Regions from separate parts of the Homo sapiens genome. Here region 2 is linked to region 1. Evidence: promoter capture Hi-C in human tissues and cell types (Jung and others, 2019). All regions are on one chromosome and are shown on one strand. The core of a region is centred on a gene start or on the middle of the fragment in contact, and the rest is flanking DNA. Distances in the headings are between cores, read along the strand shown.

Evidence for each region. Contacts are between HindIII fragments. The study calls those that stand out against the background at their distance.
Region 2: a fragment that was not itself captured here is called in contact with the fragment with the promoter of CFD in region 1 in 1 of the 25 tissues and cell types used here (spleen).

What each region holds. Positions count from the first base shown.
Region 1 is chr19:858,414-860,913 of GRCh38, reverse strand. CFD (complement factor D) reads right to left here and starts at 1,250. Exons shown (of 5, transcript NM_001928.4): 1 at 1,170-1,250; 2 at 141-297; 3 at 1-53. The coding sequence starts at 1,224. The HindIII fragment of the contact is 12,629 bases long and covers 1-2,500 here.
Region 2 is chr19:2,274,946-2,280,662 of GRCh38, reverse strand. PEAK3 (PEAK family member 3) reads left to right here. Exons shown (of 4, transcript NM_198532.3): 3 at 1,550-2,079; 4 at 4,174-5,717. The coding sequence ends at 4,983. Among named protein-coding and RNA genes, the nearest start is that of PEAK3, 4.4 kb to the left of the region's middle. RefSeq lists an enhancer at 4,678-5,612. The HindIII fragment of the contact is 7,382 bases long and covers 1-5,717 here.

The DNA.
Region 1 (2,500 bases), core at 1-2,500:
CCGGCTGCGACAGGGAGTGCGCGCCCAGGAGAACCTGCACCTTCCCGTCGGCCCTGGGGACCGGACGGAGTCCGCGGTCGGTGCCAGCCGACTCCCCCCACCGCACCCGGGCTCTTCCCCCGCGCGGCGCGGGCACTCACGCGTCCTCCAGGCAGTGCGCCGCGCTCAGCACCCACTGCTCCGCCACCAGGACGCCGCCGCACAGGTGCGCGCCGTTCAGCTGCACCGACGCCATGTAGGGCCGCGCGTGCGCCTCGGCCTCTCTGCCGCCCAGGATCCGACCACGGGGCGGCGCCGCTGTGGGTGGGCGGGCGCGTGAGGGCCGCGGGGTGGACTCCTCCCCCGGGCGAGGCTGCCTGACGGGATCCCAGCTCTCACCCCCCAGGCCGCTCCCCGCAAGAATCCCATCTCTGGGCGCGGTGGCTCACGCCTGTAATCCCAGCACTTTGTGAAGCCGCGCGGGGGCGGGGGGGGAGGGGGGGGTGCAGATCATGAGGTCAGGAGTTCAAGACCAGCCTGGCCAATATGGTGAAACCCCGTCTCTACTTTAAAAAAAAATACAAAATTTAGTCGGCGTGGCCTATAATCTCAGCTATTCGGAAGGCTGAGGCAGGAGAATCGCTTGAACCCGGGAGTCGGAGTTTGCAGTGAGCCGAGATCGCACCACTGCACTCCAGCCTGGACGACAGAGCGAGACTCCCTATCAAAAAAAAAAAGAAAGAAAAAAAAGAATCCCGTTTCCGTCTTGGGGCCCCTCAGCGTTGCAAACTCAGATACCCTCGGGCGGGAATGCCCCAGAGTACAGAACCCACAGTGGGCTGGGGACCGGGGGCAGATCCCAGCGCCCTACCCTGGGCGCAGTGCCTTCCAGTTGGACATAAGAGAAATGGGGCTGACCCAGCCAGTGCCTGGGCCAGCCCAGTCAGCCACGCAGATGAAGTTTTCCACGCAGACGTTCAGACTCTGTCTGCAAGAAAAGCTGACTCCAGAAAGTTCCGATTTCCAATCTGAATTTTCTAGAATTTTTCAGCGTTCAGAGCCTTCCATTAGTGAGGAGAGACACCCCCTTCCTGCCCACCTGGAGGGGCTGGAGGACCGTCCGTGTGACGGAAGGGAGCACCACGCCCCTACACAGCCCTGTCCCTCACCCCAGGCCCAGGCCTCCTCACCGCAGGCGGCCGCTCCTAGGAGGACCAGAACTGCCAGGCGCTCCCAGCTGTGCATGGTGAAGCCGCTGTGGCTGAGACACTGACCCAGGCAGGGCCCTGGGGGTGCTTTTATGAGGGTGGAGGGGGCGGGCCGCTCCCCGGGTGGGCAGCGGCCCAGCTGGGGAAAGGGGAACTCGCCCGCCCAGCCTCCGCCCTCCCCGGGACTGGGTTACCTCCTGCCAGACTCACACCAGAGTCGACAAGTCGCTGGGAGACCCTCGGGCCTCTGTGAGCCTGACAGCCTGCTGGCCCTGGTGGGGGGCAGTCCCTCAGATGGGCAGGAGGCAGAGAGGGGGGCTGCACCCACCCCGGCCCCAACTTCACCACACCCAGAGTCCCCCAGGGTGTTTCACAATCCTAGCTGGAGGCCACAGCGTGTAAACAACCCACTTTCTTGTCCTGCTACCCTCCCTTCTTTTCCTCCTCTATATTAGAGAGAAGGTCTGTTGGGGGTAGGAAGGTCACTTGACACCTTTGTCTCTGTCCCTGTGGCCTCTGGGGCTTGACACCCTGACGAATAGAAAGTTGGAAAGGCCAAGGCAGAGGCAGCTGGGAAGACTGGCTACAAGGGACAGGAAAACCCAGACAAACTGGGTGGAGCCTGAATCATGAAAGTTATATGGAAAGTTCAGGGATGTCCGCCTTCAGGTGTGGCTTGATCCAGGTGCCTGAACAATGTCCAGTGTCTGCTTCTGGCTTCTCCTTTCTTCTCTGATGGCTTCTTTCCTCACCAGCCTCCCCTGGTGTGTTTCCAGGGACCCCACACTCAACCCAGTGGCTCAGTGGGCCCCTCCTAAAATTCTTCCTCACTCCAGCCAAGTCTCAAGGGTGCCTTGGGTTGGTGGAGCCTGGATCACACGCCCCCTCCCAAACTGTTCACTGAGGGCAGGTTCTGATGAACAGAGTCAGGGCTGGCCGGGCACAGTGGCTCCCACCTACCATCCCGGCACATTGAGAGACCCAGATAGGAGCATCTCTTGAGCCCAGGAATTCAAGGCCAGCTTGGGGAAGACGGCGAGACCCCATCTCTACAAAAAAATTAAAATAAAATACTTCTCAGAATCTGGGCCATAGGGCCTTTTGTGAGGTGGGGATTTGTGTGTGTTGTTTTTGTTTTATTACAGACAGGGTCTTGCTCTTTCATCCAGGCTCGAGTGCAGCGGTGCAATCATAGCTCACTGCAGCCTCCTCGACCTCCGGGGCTCAAGTGATCCTCCCACCTCAGCCTCCAGAAGTGCTGGGACTGCAGGCCTGCTCATGGTGTAGCTCCATTTTTCACATCTGCCCCACAG
Region 2 (5,717 bases), core at 1,149-3,648, 1.4 Mb before region 1:
CTGTGGGTTGGTGGGCGGGGCGTGGTGGCTCACGCCTGTAATCCCAGCACCTTGGGAGGCTGAGGCAGGTGGATCCCTTGAGGCCAGGAGTTCAAGACCGGCCTGGGCAATATAATGAGACCCGCCCCCCATCTCTACAAAACAAAAAAAATGAGATGGACATGGTGTCAAGAGCCTGCAGTCCCAGCTGCTCGGGAAGCTGAGGTGGGAGGATCCCTTGAGCCCAGGAGGTCAAGGCTGCAGTGAGCCATGAAATAGAAAAAAATATATACCATTAAAAAGAGAGAGAGGCTGGGCACGGTAACTCATGCCTGTAATCCCACCCTTTAATCCCAGCACTTTGGGAGGCCAAGGAGGAGGATCACTTGAGGCCAGGAGTTCAAGACCAGCCTGGCCAACATGGCAAAACCTGTCTCTGCTAAAAATACAAAAATTAGCCAGACATGGTGGTGCATGCCTGTAATTCCAGCTACTCGGGAGGCTGAGGCAGGAGAATCGCTTGAACCTGTGAGGCAGAGGGTGCAGTGAGCCAAGACTGAGCCACCGCACTCCAGCCTGGGCGACAGAGGGAGACTCCATCTCAAAAAAAAAAAAAAAAAAAAAAAAAAAGGCCAGGTGCAATGGTTCAAGCCTGTAATCCCAGCACTTTGGGAGGCCGAGTCAGGCAGATCACCTGAGGTCAGGAGTTTGAAACCAGCCTGGCTAACATGGTGAAACCCCATCTCTACTAAAAATACAAAAATTAGCTGGGCATAGTGGCGGGCGGGCACCTGTAGTCCCAGCTACTTGGGAGGCTGAGGTAGGAGAATCGCTTGAACCTAGGAGGCGGAGGTTGCAGTGAGCCGAGATCGTGCCACTGCACTCCAGGCTGGGCGACAGAGCAAGACTTCAAAAAAGAAAAAAAGCAAGACAGACGCTTGTGCAAAGCCACGGAGGTAAGTGGGAGTCGCTGAGTGCTGGGTGGCATCACTCTCTGAAACTGATCCATCCTCCTATAAGCCTCAGTTTCCCCTTCTGTAAGCTCTGCCGCCCAGGCTGGAGTGCAGTGGCACAATCTCGGTTCACTGCAAGCTCCACTTCTCAAGTTCACACAATTTTCCTGCCTCAGCCTCCCGAGTAGCTGGGACCACAGGCGCCCACCACCAAGCCCGGCTAATTTTTTGTATTTTTAGTAAAGACGGGGTTTCACCGTGTTAGCCAGGATGGTCTCGATCTCCTGACCTCGTGATCCACCCATCTCGGCCTCCCAAAGTGCTGGAATTACAGGCATGAGCCATTGTGCATGGCCGCGTCCGGCAAATTTTTAAAAAATTTTTGCAGAGACAGGGTCTCACTATGTTGCCCAGGCTGGTCTCAAACCCTAGGTTCCAGTGATCCTCCTGCCTCGGCTTCCACCTTCCTAAGTGCTGGGATTACAAGCATGAGCCACCGGCGCCCAGCCTCATTACTTCCATGTTAGAGATGGGGAAACCGAGGCTGAGAGGTGGAGTCACGTGTCCCGTTCCCACTCCGCCTGTCCTCAACCCTCCCCCACTGTCTCTCCCTGCAGGTCAGATCCGTGCCCACCTGCTGCCCTCCAAGGCCTGCCGCCTCCGGACCCCTGGGTCCCTCTCCACCAACCCAGAGCCCCTGCCCCCACCCCTGCCCAAGAAGATCCTAACCCGGACCCAGTCACTGCCCACCCGCAGGACCCTCCATCCCAGCTCCATCCAAGTACAGCCGCCTCGGAGACCCTTTCTGGGGTCCCACAGTGTGGACAAGAGCCAGGCTGCAGTGGGACCAGCCTGTCTCCCTGCAGAGCTGACCTTTGGCCCGGCTGACGCCCCACTGGGCCTCTCCCTCCGCGATCTGCACAGCCCGGAGGCTGTGCACACTGCACTGGCTGCGCGGCAGCTGCAGGGCCTCCGTACCATCTATGCCCGGCTCCGTGCCCGGCTCATGGGGGGCCACCCCGGGCCCTGCCACCCCGGCCACAGCTTCCGCCTCCTAGACAGCTCACCCTGCGCAGAGAGCGGGGACGCCCTGTATTACCGCGTGGTGCGCGCGCACGAGGACGCCTGGCACATCCTGGTCGCCAAGGTGAGCCCCACAGCCCCACCCTCTCTGAGGTGTCCCCAGTGCCCCATCTTAGACATAACCCAGGGCTTGTTTCATTTGGCCTTTCTGTGAGTCAGTTCTCACACTGCTGTAAAGAAATACTGGAGCCGGGCGCGGTGGCTCACGCCTGTCATCCCAGCACTTTGGGAGGCCAAGGCGGGCGGATCAGCTGAGGTCAGGAGTTCAAGACCAGCCTGGCCAACATGGTGAAACCCAGCCTCTACTAAAAATACAAAAATTAGGTGTGGTGGCGGGCGCCTGTAAACCCAGCTACTTGGGAGACTGAGGCAGGAGAATTGCTTGAACCCGGGAGGCAGAGGTTGCAGTAAGCCAAGATTGGGCCATTGCACTCCAGCCTGGGCAACAGAGTGAGACTCCGTCTCAAAAAAAAAAAAAAGAAAAAGGCCGGGCACAGTGGCTCACACCTGTAATCCCAGCACTTTGGGAGGCCGAGGCGGGCAGATCACGAGGTCAGGAGATACAGACCATCCTGGCTAACACGGTGAAACCCTGTTTCTACTAAAAAGACAAAAAATTAGCCGGGCGTGGTGGTGGGCACCTGTAGTCCCAGCTATTTGGGAGGCTGAAGCAGGAGAATGGCATGAACCCAGGGGGCAGAGCTTGCGGTGAGCCGAGAACGCACCACTGCGCTCCAGCCTGGGCGACAGAGCGAGACTCCGTCTAAAAAAAAAAAAAAAGGCTGGGCAGCACAGTGGCTGACGCCTGTAATCTCAGCACTTTGGAAGGCCAAGGCGGGCAGATCATGAGGTCAGGAGTTCGAGACCAGCCTGGCCAACATAGTGAAACCCCCATCTCTACTAAAAATACAAAAATTAGCCGGGCGCGGTGGTGCGCACCTGAAGTCCCAGCTACTTGGAGGCTAAGGCAGGAGAATCACTTGAACCTGGGAGGCGGAGGTTGCAGTGAGCTGAGATTCGAAAATTGGGCTATTGCACTCCAGCCTGGGCGACAGAGTGAGACTCTGTCTCAAAAAAGAAAAACAAAAGAGAAGAAAAAAGAAAAGAAAAGAAAAAGGAATACTGGAGACTGGGTAATTTATAGAGAAAAGGGCCTTAATTGGCTCATGGTTCTGGTGGCTTCTGCTTCTGGGGAGGCCTCAGGAAGCTTCCAATCATAGTGGAAGGCGAGGCGGGAGCAGGCATCTCACACGGTGGGAGCAGGAGGAAGGGAGGGAGGAGGTGCTACTCACCTTTACACAGCCAGATCTCACGAGAACTCACTCGTTATCCCAACGACAGTGCCAAGGGAGATGGTGCTGAGCCATTCATGATAAACCACCCCCAAGATCCAAGTCGCCTCCCACCAGACCCCACCTCCAACACTGGGGAATGAGATTTGGTGGGGACACAGATCCAGACCATATTAGACTTGTTTATTTTGCAACTAACACGTGAATCAACGCAGTTAACCCAGGAAACCATGTTTCTAAAGTATGGGGCCATGGGTATGGCCTTGGAGCTCTTGTCAAAACCCCTCCCACACCTCTCTGGCCGGGGATCTGCTTTTGTGTTTTTTGTTTTGTTTTTTGTTTTTGAGACAGAGTCTCACTCTGTTGCCCAGGCTGGAGTGCAGTGGCGCGTTCTCGGCTCACTGCAACCTCCACCTCCCGGGCTCAAGCGATTCTCTCACCTCAGCCTCCGAAGTAGCTGGGATGACAGGCGCGCCACCACGCCCAGCTAGTTTTGCATTTTTTAGTAGAGACGAGCGTTCCCTGCGTTGGCCAGGCTGGTCTCGAACTCCTGACCTCAGCGATCCCCCTGCCTCCCAAAGTGCTGGGAAGGCGTGAGCCACCGCGCCCGGCCCAGGAATCTGCTTTCGAACTCATTGCCCAGGAACATCTTCTTCCCTGGCTTAACTTTCCTGAAAGTCCTTACTGGTGACTAACTTCCAAATTAACACTGACCTCCTGCTGCTGGAGGGATGCAGGCAGCCCCTAGCCGTAGTGGGGGCAGTTTGGGGGTGTGCGTGGGAGGCTTCGGGGCAGGTAGCACTGGGGCAGGCGGTGCTTGTGGGGGGCCCAGTGATCCAGGCCCCGACACCCCCTCTGCCTTGCAGGTGCCCAAGCCCGGGGCGGACGTGCCCCACCCGTGGGGCCTGGAGCTGCAGGCCTCCCTGTCTCCACACTTCAATCTGCAGGGGCTGTGTGGCCTGGTGCCTGAAGGCACACTGCCCGGGGCGCCCTGGAGAGGCGCAGTGGCGCTGGCAGCCGAGGTTCCAGAGCGCACGGTGGCGCAGTGGCTGGCGGAGGCCTGCACGCAGCCGCCGGAGGAGTTCGTGTGGGCTGTGGCCCTGCTGCTGCTGCAGCTGAGCGCGGCCCTGAAGTTCCTGGAGGCGTGGGGCGCGGCCCTAGTCGAGTTGCGGCCGGAGAACTTGCTGCTGGTGGCACCTCGGGGCTGTGCGACGACGGGGCCCCCACGCCTGCTCCTCACTGACTTTGGCCGCGTCTGTCTGCAGCCCCCTGGACCCCCGGGATCCCCGGGCCCCCACGCGCCGCAGCTGGGCAGCCTCCTCCGAGCGCTGCTCAGCCTTGCTGCGCCCTCGACCACGCCTTTGGCCGCGGGCCTGGAGCTCCTGGCAGCACAGCTGACCCGCTTGCGGCCCTCGGCGTCCCGGACGCGGGGCGCGCTGCAGGCGCTGCTCTGGGGGCCCGGGCCTGAGCTGCGCGGCCGCGGAGCACCGCTTGGTCCCTGGCTCCGAGCGCTCGGGCCCTGGCTGCGGGTGCGCCGCGGGCTGCTGGTCCTGCGCCTAGCAGAGCGGGCCGCAGGTGGGGAAGCTCCCAGCCTCGAGGACTGGCTGTGTTGCGAATACCTGGCCGAGGCCACCGAGTCCTCGATGGGCCAGGCCCTGGCGCTGCTGTGGGACTGACCCCAACCCAGGGCGAACACACCTGGTCCAGGCCTGCCCAGGAGGCAGGGCTGGGGCTGAGGTCAGCGTCTCCATGATAGCCAAGACACCCTCTTCCTGCAGAGTCCAGGAGCGCAGCAGAGAGAGCAATGCCCCACTCCAGAGCCTCCCCTCCCGTGCTGGGGATGTGGGTCAAGGGCTTCCCAGGAATGCAGCTGCCCCTCCAGGGCTGGGGGCTGGCCAGCGCCTCCTGTGTTGGGCAGCAGCTCTCTGAAGCCAGGGCCCCCACGCCACTTCCAGGTGTGGACAACCCCGCTGATCAATGTCTCTCTGTGTTCTGCCTTCCCCAGCAGCCAGGGCGCTCTTCCGCGTGGGTTCTGTCATTGTCTCCATGAGAGGCCAATGCCGGGACCAGAGGCATTCCTGGCTCTGGAGCACCCCCTTGTGCTGAAGATGGCCAGTGATTTTGGGCATGTGAATGCCCCTGTCCCTGGTGGAGAATTGCTTGGTGGTGTCACGGGAAGGGAAGGCTCCCTGGGACCTTAGACACCCAGCTCATCTCAGCGGGGTCTGGACTCACCTTCCCTAAAACAGTCCCCGCGGTTCCCTGCCACCTCCCCTCAATCCCTCTGCGCCCACCCTGCCTCCCTCCCTGTTCCTCCGTGACACACCAACTTCTTTCGCGCCCCCAAGCATTTGTGTAGGCTGTTCCCTCTGCCATACTGTTCCAGTTCCACTTTCTTTTTCTTTTTTTT